Regions from separate parts of the Homo sapiens genome. Here regions 2 and 3 are each linked to region 1. Evidence: promoter capture Hi-C in human tissues and cell types (Jung and others, 2019). All regions are on one chromosome and are shown on one strand. The core of a region is centred on a gene start or on the middle of the fragment in contact, and the rest is flanking DNA. Distances in the headings are between cores, read along the strand shown.

Evidence for each region. The method cuts DNA at HindIII sites, captures the fragments that hold promoters and counts their contacts. A contact is called where the count stands out against the background at its distance.
Region 2: a contact is called between a fragment that was not itself captured here and the fragment with the promoter of ADORA2A in region 1, in 2 of the 25 tissues and cell types used here (dorsolateral prefrontal cortex and lymphoblastoid cells).
Region 3: a fragment that was not itself captured here is called in contact with the fragment with the promoter of ADORA2A in region 1 in 3 of the 25 tissues and cell types used here (bladder, lymphoblastoid cells and stomach).

Annotation. Positions count from the first base shown.
Region 1 is chr22:24,425,548-24,429,482 of GRCh38, reverse strand. It overlaps ADORA2A (adenosine A2a receptor), which reads right to left and starts at 1,884. Exons shown (of 3, transcript NM_000675.6): 1 at 1,737-1,884. The region is part of intron 18 of SPECC1L-ADORA2A (SPECC1L-ADORA2A readthrough (NMD candidate)); the gene reads right to left. It overlaps ADORA2A-AS1 (ADORA2A antisense RNA 1), which reads left to right. Exons shown (of 7, transcript NR_028484.3): 7 at 1-277. RefSeq lists enhancers at 1-23, 98-257, 3,865-3,935 and a silencer at 1,694-1,803. The HindIII fragment of the contact is 18,723 bases long and covers 1-3,935 here.
Region 2 is chr22:24,201,898-24,205,832 of GRCh38, reverse strand. No RefSeq gene overlaps it. Among named protein-coding and RNA genes, the nearest start is that of SUSD2, 22 kb to the right of the region's middle. RefSeq lists an enhancer at 1-543. The HindIII fragment of the contact is 4,705 bases long and covers 1-3,935 here.
Region 3 is chr22:24,560,896-24,564,830 of GRCh38, reverse strand. The region is part of intron 2 of SNRPD3 (small nuclear ribonucleoprotein D3 polypeptide); the gene reads right to left. Among named protein-coding and RNA genes, the nearest start is that of SNRPD3, 6.9 kb to the right of the region's middle. RefSeq lists an enhancer at 2,417-2,918. The HindIII fragment of the contact is 9,525 bases long and covers 1-3,935 here.

The sequences.
Region 1 (3,935 bases), core at 635-3,134:
TAATTACTCCTTGAGTCATCTGTTGCTAACCAGGAGGGGAAATTAAATATTAATAATGTAATACTTCTCTGTGATTACCCCTTGTTGGGGACAGATCAGAGGGCAGATGCTGCCCCATACAGACAGGGGACACATGCTGCGGAATGTGCATAATGCCTCTTGAAAGAACCACCTTATAGGATTCCACGCGGTCAGACTCAAAACTGCTGCTGCTTCCTGCCTTCCTCCTCACCTCCCCCAACCTGGCCACTTTAATTAAAACTCCATTTAATCAAAACCCACACATCTTCTGGTTCCTCATATGTCGCACTAGCAAGGCCCTCTGTACACATGCCCAGATGGTGGCTATACCCCCCAGAGCCTGCTGCACGGAGGTGCCCACCAGCTTCTAGGCAGTGACCTGCACATCTGCTCCTGAGTGCGGCTAAGAGCAACATACAGGACACAGTGCACGGACTCGGACCCGCTCCAGCCATGCCTGGCCTGTTCCTGGGCTCCAGAATCCCAGCCTTAGAACCCTCCTGCTGCTTTTCCATAACAAATGTTTACCAAGTACCTCCACCAGGCCTGGCAGCACCCCAACTGCTGGGCCAAAGGGAGGTGTGCCCCCGTTGCTGTGCCTGGCCCCATCTGAGCATATGGCAGGGGACCTCAAAGGAGGAAAGGACCCAGGACATTCCTGGGAGGCGGCTGCTGCCCTGCAGTTTCAGGCACTGCAGGCCACTCCCTGTCTCCACAACATTGGCTCAGCTAAGAGGAGTCGCAAATCAATTTCAAAGCGCAAGAGGTATATGAAGGCTAAGAAAGGTAAGCAACAGAATAAAAAACATGGAGGTGAATTCATTCCAGTAGGAAGGAAGGTAATACAGTAATCTAATAATGATTTCAGAGACCTTTAGAATCTCCAAAGAGGCAAAGAAAGGAATGGCATCCGTAGACAAGAATGAGAACTTCTGAACCGACTGGCGGAAATGAAACAAGGACAGGTGGATATGAACAAGAAATAATACAAAATCCAGGGACTGAAAAATAGAAGGACTGAAGTAAGGGATGTGGTGAGCTTCAGGCACACGTACAGTGGAAGAGACGACTGGGGATCTGAAGCTAGTACTGAGGAATTCTCCCAGAAACGCCATGAAGAGACCTAGTCTAGGAGGAAACGGTTGAGAGGCATGGGGTGGACTGAGAAGCATCAACAAGTGGCTTGCGGGAGCTCGGCAGGGCACGGCAGGTTGTGGGCCCCACTATGACTGGCTTTTGGGATGGCCCAGGGGGGCCTGGGCATGAACCTCCCAGAACCCAGGGCCCCAGGATCCCCATACCCCTTCCAAACTCATCAGCGCAGGTGCCTTCCTCACTGCCCAGTGGTAAGCAGCCACCCAGCACGGGCTCCACTTCCCTCCTGACCTCCGGGGCTGCCCGGTGGCCCTTACTTCAGGCGCTGGGTGCAGGCTGGGCCCGGGACCCAGAGATACACCTGGCATCCCTCCCCCACAGCCCGGGTGCAGCTGCAGCTCTCTGCTCCTGGTGGCAGGATGTGGGCAAGATGGGGCCAAGACCCAGCTCCCTGCAGCTGGAGGCTAAGGCTCTGAGCCTGCCTCACAGAGCAGCCCCCACATCGCAGCCCCGGGGCCAGTGCTGGGGGCCCCAGCTCCTGCTCCCCACACCCCCATGTGTCCAGGCTAGGGGCCAGGAAGGCCACAGCACCCCCTCCTCCCCGCCTGGGGGCCACTCACCCCCTCACACGAGGCTTCACCTGACAGCCCTCCTCCGAGGGGCCGCACCCCGCACCAAGGTGCTGGGGGCCCACGCTGTGCTGAAAGCAGCTTGGCTGGGGGCGGCTCCTGCTCCATGTCACAGTCCCTGAGGCCCAGGCAGAGCTTCCCCTCTGCACGCGGCTGCTCACATGTACACAGGCTGTGGTGAGCCACGTCACGTCACGTGAAGGATTGGCACCTGCACCTCCCTCAGATGGCGGGCAACAGGTACTATGCCGCTGAAGGGGGGACAAGGGAGTGTTTCTAGATGGCCCCGCGGACACAGAGCCCAGGAGTCCTGGGCGGGACCCTGTGGGAGGCTTGAAGGGGCAGTGCTGGGTGCAGGGCCTCACAATGCCCCAGGGTGGCTGCAATGAGGATGGGAGGGGTGAGGACCGGCTGTTGGGTCCCTGGGCAGGTGCGACGAGGCAGCCCCGGAGGCTGACAGGAGGGCAGGGTGACCAAGCAGAGCCTGGCCACTGCTTCTTCCCCACTGAGCAGCCTCCCCCAGGCTGGCTCAGGGTTTGCAGAGGCCACTGAGGGACCAGAGGCGAGTCCTCCTGTGACACGGGCAGACCAGCCCGGGGCCTCTGGGGAGAAGTCTCCTGCCCAGATGCCAGAGGAGACACCAAGTGGCACCATCGGCCTCCCTCTGCTTGGCCAGCTCCGGCAGCCTCTCCACCAGGTGACGGCCGATGCCAGAGACCAGGGCTGCAGCGGCACATCCGAGGAGTGGGCACAGAAGAGCAGCAGCAGCCCCTGCCCAGTGACTCCTGGAACAAGCTTCCCCTGCGGGGTGTTGGCGGGGGGTGGTGAGAGAATCCCCATGGCAACTCACAGAAACATCATCTGGGTGAGACTTGGAGGAGAAGGTGAAGGGAGAGAGGTATCGAGAGATTCTAGCAGAGAAAATGCCCGAAGCCAGGGTCCTGCCTTCCCTGGGCTCCCATCATCCCCTGTGCTGGGACGAGGGGCAGCTGCTCTGCTGCTCCTCTCTCCACCTGATCCTCCCCAGTCCCTGGCCAGATCCATGGAGTCCAGGCTGCAGGGGCCCAGGCCTCCTCCGCCATGAAACTGCCTCTTCCCACCACCCAGAGCCCCAGGTTCTGCACAGGATGTGGGCAGTTGTGTGGGGGCTCCTCTCTGCACCCCAGCTCCATTCCCTTCCCCATCTGGGCTCCTCTGCTCCTTGCAACCTCTGGACCACCCACCTCCTAGGACCAAGCCCCTCCTGTCAATGGCCCAGACCCTTCTGGGAGCTAGAACCCTCCCATTCACCAGCTCAGCTCCTGCCTGTGCAGTCTCCTCTCCACAGCACCCCCACCACACATGCCCTAAATCCCCTCAGCCTGTGCTTCCCGCCTTCATCCATCCATCCATCTTCTGTCTGTCCTTCCTCTGCTCTCCTGCGTGCTCAGGGCTCTGTTTGCGCTGCAATAGACAAGACAGACCCCGCAAACACGGTTGGGAAGGCAGTTCTAGCTCATTTGGGGTTAGGTGGCTCGGGTATTAGGTCTGTGAGAGGGTACTAAGACCTTCTTTGGAGTGTCAGGACACAGCTGAGAGCCACCAGGGGCTGTGGTCCCACACAGCAGGCACTGCCCAGGCCTCACCTGGACTTTGCAGGACGTGATGCTCTCAAGTCACATGCTGGCTCCCAGGCCAACTACCATTCATATGTCCCTCTGCCAACAGCAATCCCTGTGGTGTCCCCTGACCCTCAAGCCTAACACCCTCCCTCCCGGGTTCCCCGCTCCAGCACACACCCCTCACCGGCCCTCTGGTCTGCCCTAAACCTTCCCCCACTTGCTCCCAAGCCAAGGCCTTTCCACATTAGGCATTGCTAAGATCATCATCCTTGTTCTACAGATGAGATATCAGATTCCCCGGGACAGCAACCTGCTCAGCGAGTGGGTCGAGGAGGCAAGACCAGAACCCAGACGAGAGCACTGAAATCTCCAGCACATCGCGTTGCCCATGAGGCAGTCATTGCCATTGATTGCCCTCCTCCATCGCGACGCAGGGCATATTTGGGGATCTGTAATTCACAGACTGATATGGGAAGAAGCCCAGCACAGCTCTCAGACCAGCCAGGTCAGCCTTGGCCTAAGGCCCGCCTCTGGCCAGAGGTGACTGGGCTGCCCCTGGCTTCCTGAGGCAAGGAGCAGGAAAGCTCAC
Region 2 (3,935 bases), core at 428-2,927, 220 kb after region 1:
TGACTCACATGGGGTTTCTCTTTATTCAAATCCCCCTGCTCTGTCTCTGTAAGGGGAAGCTGTTTTCTTCTTCCTTCTTTCTTGCCTATTAAACATTTTGCTCCTTAAAACCACTCCACCAGCCTGACCAACATAGTGAAACCCCGTCTGTACTAAAAATACACATATTAGCCAGGTGTGGCAGCACATGTCTGTAATCCCAGCTACTCAGGAGGCTGAGCCAAGAGAACTGCTTGAAACTGGGAGGCGGAGGTTGCAGTGAGCTGAGATGGTGCCATCGCACTCCAGCCTGGGCAACAAGAGTGAAACTCCGTCTCAAAAAAATAAAAAGCTAAAAACAAACAAAAAACCATTCCACATGTGTCGGTGTCATTAATCCTATCAGTACAAAACCAAAACCCTGGTGTTCCTCCAGTCATCAAAGCCGCATCAATTGGAATCAAGGAATATATGCAAAAATCAATGTTATTTCTACGTACCAGCCATAAACAAAAAAACCTTTTTTGAAGTAAAATCGCTTGTAGTAGTGTGAATCAAAAAGCATCTGAAACAGGTCTCAATCAACTTAAGAGTTTATTTTGCCAAGGTTAAGGACAATGCCCAGGAGGGGAAAAAAAATGGAATCACAGAAGCAGCCTATGGTCTGTGCCTTTCCCCAAAGGTGACTTTGAGGGCTTCAAAATTTAAAAAAGAAGAGTGAGGTGAGAAGATTGCTTGAGCCCAGGAGTTCAAGACCAGCCTGAGGAACATCGTGAAACCCCATCTCTACAAAAAAATACAAAAATTGGCCAGATATGGTGGTGCATGCCTGCAGTCCCTGCTACTCAGCAGGCTGAAGCACAAGGATCGATTGAGCCCAGGAGGTCCAGGCTACTGTGAGCCATGATTGCCCCACTGTACTCCACCCTGGGTGACAGAGCAAGACCCAGTGTCTCTCTCTCTCTCTCCCTCTCTCTCTCTCCTTCTTTCTCTCTCTCTCTCTATATATATAGCTCAATTCACCTATTTCTAACAGTTTCTCGAGTATCTACAGATAATGACTATAACAGTTAAAGAAAGAGGAAGGAAACATGAAAAGTGGCTCAACAGTTAAAGACAGGTTTATTCTAGAGAATAAACCTGAGAGGGGCTTCTGGCTGATTTCAGTTGGGCGCTCTTTCTTACAAACAGCCATATATATATATATATATATATAGAGAGAGAGAGAGAGAGAGAGAGAGAGAGAGAAAGAAAGCACAAAGGAGCAGGTAGGGGAAGAGTAAATTACGTATTCCTCTTGCATTACCAGAAAGAGGTCCCAATCCAGACCCCAAAGAAGGTTCTTGGATCTCCAGCAAGAAAGAATTCAGGGCAAGTCCATAGTAAGTTGATTAAGACAGTAAAGGAATAAAAGAATGGCTACTCCATAGACAGAGCAGTGTGGAGGGCAGCTGGTTGCCCATTTTTATGGTTATTTTTTATTATATGTGAAACAAGGGATAGATTATTTATGCCTCCCCTTTTTAGACCACATAGGTTAACTTCCTGACATTGCCACAGCATTTGTAAACTGTCATGGCGCCAGTGAGAGTGTAGTACTGAGGAAGACCTGAGGTCACTCTCGTTGCCATCTTGGTTTTGGTGGGTTTTAGCTGGCTTCTTTACTGCAACCTGTTTTATCAGCAAGGTCTTTATGACGTGTATCTTGTGCCGACCTCCTATCTCATCCTGTGACTAAGAATGACTTGACCTCTTGGGAATGCAGCCCAGTAGGTCTCATCCTCATTTTACCCAGCCCCTATTCAAGATGGAGTTGCTCTGGTTCACACGCCTCTGATACTTGTGCTCAGTAAATCAGTAAATCAGCACTTTACACAAGATTAGGTGAACATCGAGTGGAGATATTGAACTCAAGATAAGGTGAACATAGACTGGAGGTATTGAACCTTTTTTTTTTTTTTTTTTTTGAGACAGTCTCACTCCTTCACCCAGGCTGGAGAGCAGTGGTGCTATCTTGGCTCACTGCATCCTCTGCCTCCTGGGTTCAAGCGATTCTCCTACCTTAGCCTCCCGAGTAGCTGGGATTACAGGAACATGCCACCACTCCTGGCTAATTTTTGTATTTTCAGTAGAGATGGGGTTTCACCATATTGGCCAGGCTGGTCTCGAACCCCTGAACTCAGATATGCCCACCTCTGCCTCCCAAAGTGCCGGGATCACAGCCGTGTGCCATGCACCCAGTCAGATTTGGGCATTGTTGTTGTTGGTGGTGGTGGTGTTTTGAGACACTCTGTCACCCAGGCTGGAGTGCAGTGGCACAATTTTGGCTCACAGCAACCTCCACCTCCTGGGTTCAAGTGATTCTCCTGCCTCAGCCTCCCAAGTAGCTGGGATTACAGGCGCCTACCACCACGCCTGGCTACTTTTTTTTGTATTTTTAGTCGAGATGGGATTTCACCATGTTCGCCAGGCTGGTCTCGAACCCCTGACCTCAGGTAATCAACCCACCTTGGCCTCTCAAAGTGCTGGGATTACAGGCGTGAGCCAGCGCGCCCAGCTGAGCCTGGAACCTTTTATCTGTAGCTATCTGCTTAGGAACAAAGGGAAAGGTAGCTGCTTGCATGGCTCAGCATTCAACTTAATTTTTTTTTGGTATAGTGAACTGGGGTCCTGAGTTTTTATTTTCCTTTCACAATAGCATAAAAAAGTTAAAAACCTAGATGTAAAACTAACAAAGATATGCAAGACTTCTGCACTGACCACTGCAAAGCATAATTGAGAGAAATTAAGGAAAACCTAAATAAACAGAGGGTATACTCCATTTCTCGCCACATTCATACCCTGATTTGCAACCGGCAAAAGGGTCCGCTGCTTACTTGTAAAAAGAAGCCCATGTAACAAGAGTGAGGTGTGATAAGAAGAGAGAGTGAGATGTGATTATCCATGCTAGCAAGGGAGGAGTGAGTGTAATTCTTTCCAAAAATTTACACTCTTCAGTTTGTGGAGAGAATGCAGGTGTTTCTGTTTGTTTTTTGAGAGGGAGTCTCGCTCTGTCACCCAGGCCGGAGTGCAGTAGCACGATTTCTGCTCATTGCAAGCTCTGCCTCCTGGGTTCATGCCATTCCACTGCCTCAGCCTCCTGAGTAGCTGGGACTACAGGTGCCCGCCACCAAGCCTGGCTAATTTTTTTTTTTTTTTTTTCTGTATTTTCAGTAGAGACGGGGTTTCACCGTGTTAGCCAGGATGGTCTCGATCTCCTGGCCTCGTGATCCACCTCGGCCTCCCAAAATGCTAGGATTACAGGCGTGAGCCACCGCGCCTGGCCCCGAATGCGGGGGTATTTTAAGAGAGGATTTGGAATGCAGAAAAGGCAGAGGGGCTGGGAGGTATCAGGTGGCGTGACTCACTCCAATGGCTTGTCTTGAATTATTGTTTCATCTGGTGAAAGGGCCGGTGCCGTCATGGCTAGAGGTGTCTGGTCCGTATCAGGATCTGGCCTCTGAAGCTTCTAAGGAAATATATGACCAGATAAGTGAGTGTGGTGTGTTCTTAGCAAGCGGCTAGGTAAGTAAATAGTGCATAAGGCATGGGGGCATAGAATGGGAAAAGAGGCCAGGTGCGGTGGATCATGCCTGTAATCCCAGCACTTTGGAAGGCCAAGGTGTTGCAGGCTGCACATCTGAAGCCTGTTAACAATACTGTGATCAATCAAGGAGCTGACCAATCATTACCTCCTCCTCCCAGCTCTTTCTACCCAATAAAAGTGAAGGACTCTAGAAGCTCAGGGCTGCCTTTGCCTACTAGAAGCAAGGAGCCCCCGACTCCCTCTTTAAAAAATCCTTTTGTATTTGTTTTCATTTCTATGTTCATCCCCCTTCGTTCATTCCCGTAGTAACCATCACACCAAGGCGGCTAGAACAGTTAAGAACAGGAGTTTGAGACCAGCCTGGCCAACA
Region 3 (3,935 bases), core at 1,050-3,549, 130 kb before region 1:
GACTCAGTACATGCTAAATCTGATTGACAGCTAAAATGTGTTTTGGGAGCTGTGCCACTGCTAAGCCACACTCCCTCCAGCACAGGGGCACATCTCACTCCTTTCCTGACAGAAGCTGTTGCATAAGTCCGACAAGACTTAATCTAGGCATTTCCATAAATGAACTATGTCCTGGCTGAAGCAGGAGAGTCCAGTGTCCTCTGACTCCTATTTTAACCCTAACAACCAGGCTCACTACTGCTCTCGCTTTCCCTGTAGCACTGGCTAAGAACAGCTTGCTGTGGACAAAACCCCACAGTCTCACTGCACACATGCCTGCTAGAGCTTGCTAATAAGCCTGACCTGTGTTTGTATCACAAGCCCAAGGCAGCAACTTTTGAGTGAACCAGATCCTAATCAACTCCAGGCAGGAACACCCAGTTTAATCAACTTTCCTCAACAGCCACAATGAAACACATATGGTATAAGCCAGGTACCCAACTGAAATGACATCCTGAGGGGGAGAGAGAGAATCTTTGTAGCACAAAGTGGTGGGACTTTCTTAGATACCTGGGGCCAAGATGGAGAAAGCTAGCTCCAGGACTGTGAAGGTGTGTTGGGGTGTCTCAGGCCTGTCAATACACCAGAAATGCATTCTTTAGGACAATTTCACACATACACAAAGGCAGAGGTGCTTGGATGCCACTGCTATAATACGAATACCAACTAAGGCCATCTACCTATCTTTGTTCTTAGGAAATACAAAAGTATTATGGGGTAGAGGAGCATGATGAATGCAATCCACACACAAACAGTACAGGAAAAAAAAAGTATACGATAAGTTTAAAAAACTGGTTTTCCTTCAACCTAGAGGGCTAGGTGTCTAAAGAAATTCAATTACATTGAATTCAGAGATTTCAAAAACTTTCCTAGCAATAGTTATGGGCAATTTTCTGACCCAATCATGTGAGAGCTTCTTTTGGGTTCTCATTTTTATACAGTGACACAAGACCATATTCCATACAGAGACCAGTTTTCCAAAGATGGCTATTATATGCCAAAGCCAACAAAACAGATTTCAAACAGTCCCATCAGTGATTGGGTGGTCATGTTGAAGCCCCAAAAGCACAATGTCTGCTTGTGCAGAGCTCTACACCACATTCTCCCACCAAAACTTCTAAGAATTAAGTCATTTTGAATGTAGTGAAATGGGTTTGACCATTACTCTCTGTATTTGCTTGTATCATTTATAATTTGGGTCCATTTTTATAAAACTGGGGACATATTTTGGAGTATTGTTATTTTTCTCACTTATGCCAACAGCATTTTGACCAACATGCCATATCCTGCAGCTGATGCCCTATCCTGCAGCACTGGCCACCAGTGCTTGGCTTGCAGCTGTCGGAATGAGAAGGAGAACAAAAGCTCCCTGCCTTCCCAGCTTAACCTCAGATGCACACCCTCTGACCCGATAAGCACCATTTCAGGGACCTCATCCTGAGTTTCACATACACATATTTCCTCTTCTTCCTTTAAAAAAAAAAATATATATATATATACACACACACACACATATATATACATACATATATACATACATACACACATACACACACACACACACACACACACACACACACACACATATATGAGACAGGGTCTCACTGTGTTGCCCAGGGTGGTCCCAAACTCTTGGGATCAAGTGATCCCCCTGGCCCAGCCTCCCAAAGTGCTGGGATTACAGGCATGAGCCAATGTGCCTGGCCATATTTTGCATTTTCAAATGTCAAAAACAGTGCTAAGATAACAGGATACTTTAAAACTACTTGAGGGACCATAAAAGGGTATTTTGTATGGGGATGTTGTCGAGGATATCATCTAATAGTGTCTCCTGTATCTGAGTGCCAGGGAAATCCACACAATTGCTATTTTAACTTAAGAACACTATGCATTTTGGAACTGATGATCTTCCCTGCTTAATCTTACACTGGAATATACCTTTATTCAATGTACAGAGAGATTCAGGTTTACATTTCTGGATACTGACTGCTTGGCTTCATTTTACATTCTACCCCAGCTTACCTGCACCATGATCTATGCATCTACTTTTATCCTGCCATAGAATTTTTTTAATTTTAGAGATAGGGTCTTGCTCTGTCACCCAGGCTGGAGTGCAGTGGTGCGACCAGAGCTTAATGCAGCCTGAACTGCTGGGTGGGCTCAAGTGATCCTTTTTGCCTCAGCCTATGGAGTAGCTGGGACTACAGGCATAAGCCATCACATCCAGATAATATATTTTTTATTTTTGGAGATGGAGTCTTGCTCTGTCGCCCAGGCTGGAGTGCAGTGGCGCGATCTTGGCTCATTGCAAGCTCTGCCTCCTGGGTTCACGCCATTCTCCTGCCTCAGCCTCCCGAGTAGCTGGGACTACAGGCGCCCGCCACCACACCTGGCTAATTTTTTGTATTTTTTTTAGTAGAGACAGGGTTTCACCGTGTTAGCCAGGCTGGTCTCAATCTCCTGACCTCGTGATCTGCCCGCCTCAGCCTCCCAAAGTGCTGGGATTACAGGCGTGAGCCACAGTGCCCAGCCCCACATCCAGATAATTTTTAAACTTTTTTGCTTTTCAGAAGAGACAGGGTCTAACTATTTCTGAAAGAGGATAGAATAAAAAGTAAATACTAAAACCCCAAAACAGGGCAGGTGTGGCTTAGGCCTGTAATTCCAATACTTTGGGAGGCCAAGGTGGGAGGATCGCTTAAGTCCAGGAGTGCAAGACTAGCCTGGGCAACAGAGTGAGATCCTCTATTTATCTTTTCCGAATCGTTGTGGTGTGCTTTTGTGTGTGTGTGAGACTAGGTCTCACTCCGTCGCCCAGGCTGGAGTGCAGTGGCACTCCATAGCTCACTGCAGCCTTGACTTCCTGGGCTCAAGTAATCGTCCCAACTCAGCCTCCACCTGAATGGCTGGGACTACAGGCATGTGCCACCACATCCGTCTATTTTATTTTTTTTACAGACAAAGTCTTGTCATGTTGCCCAGGTTGGTCTTGAACCCCTGGGCTCAAGTGATCCTCCTGCCTCAGCCTCTCAAAGTGTTGGGATTATAGGAGTAGCCACCACATTTTGTCCCACCCCACTTTTATAACAGAAAATGTTATTGAACAAGCAAGGAAAAGTGCTAAGAGGATGTTCTCATTCCCAAAAGGCAGAATGACTGGATCTGGGAAGGACAGGCAAGCCTCACAGCCTGAGATGTGCTGAACAAACTAAACTGTGCTCAGAGTTCACCCACCACCAGCTTTAGCTACGCCACAGTCTGCTGGCTCTTATTCAATGTGCCTAGGTTTTGATAGACCCAGTGAGGCCTCTACATCCTGTTACAGGCTAAATTGTATCCCTCAAAAAAATTCATTGTTGAAGTCCTAATACCCAGCACCTCAGAATGTGATCATATTTAGAGACAAAAAATCTTTACAGGCCAGATGTGGTGGCTCATGCCTGTAATTCCAGGAGTTTGAGAGACTGAGGCAGCAGGATCACTTGTGGCCAGGAGTTTGAAACTGGCCTGAAAAACATATCAAGACTCCGTCTCTACAAAAAAATTTAAAAATTAGCCAGGTATGGTGGGGCACACTGGTAGTCCTGGATACTTAGAAGACTGAGGTGAAAAGATCTCTTGAGCCCAGAAGTCCAAGGCTGCCCATGAGCTATGATCAAACCACTGCACCCCAGCCTGGTCAACAGACCAAAGCTTAATCTCAAAAAAAAAAAAAAAAAAAAAAAAAGAAAAGAAAAAGGAAAAGAAAAAAAAGGCTGGGTGCAGTGGCTCATGCCTGTAATCCTAGCACTTTGGGAGGCCAAGGTGGGCAGATTGCCTCAGCTCAGGAGTTAGAGACCAGCCTGGGCAACATGATGAGCCTCCATCTCTATTAAAAATACAAAAAATATTAACAT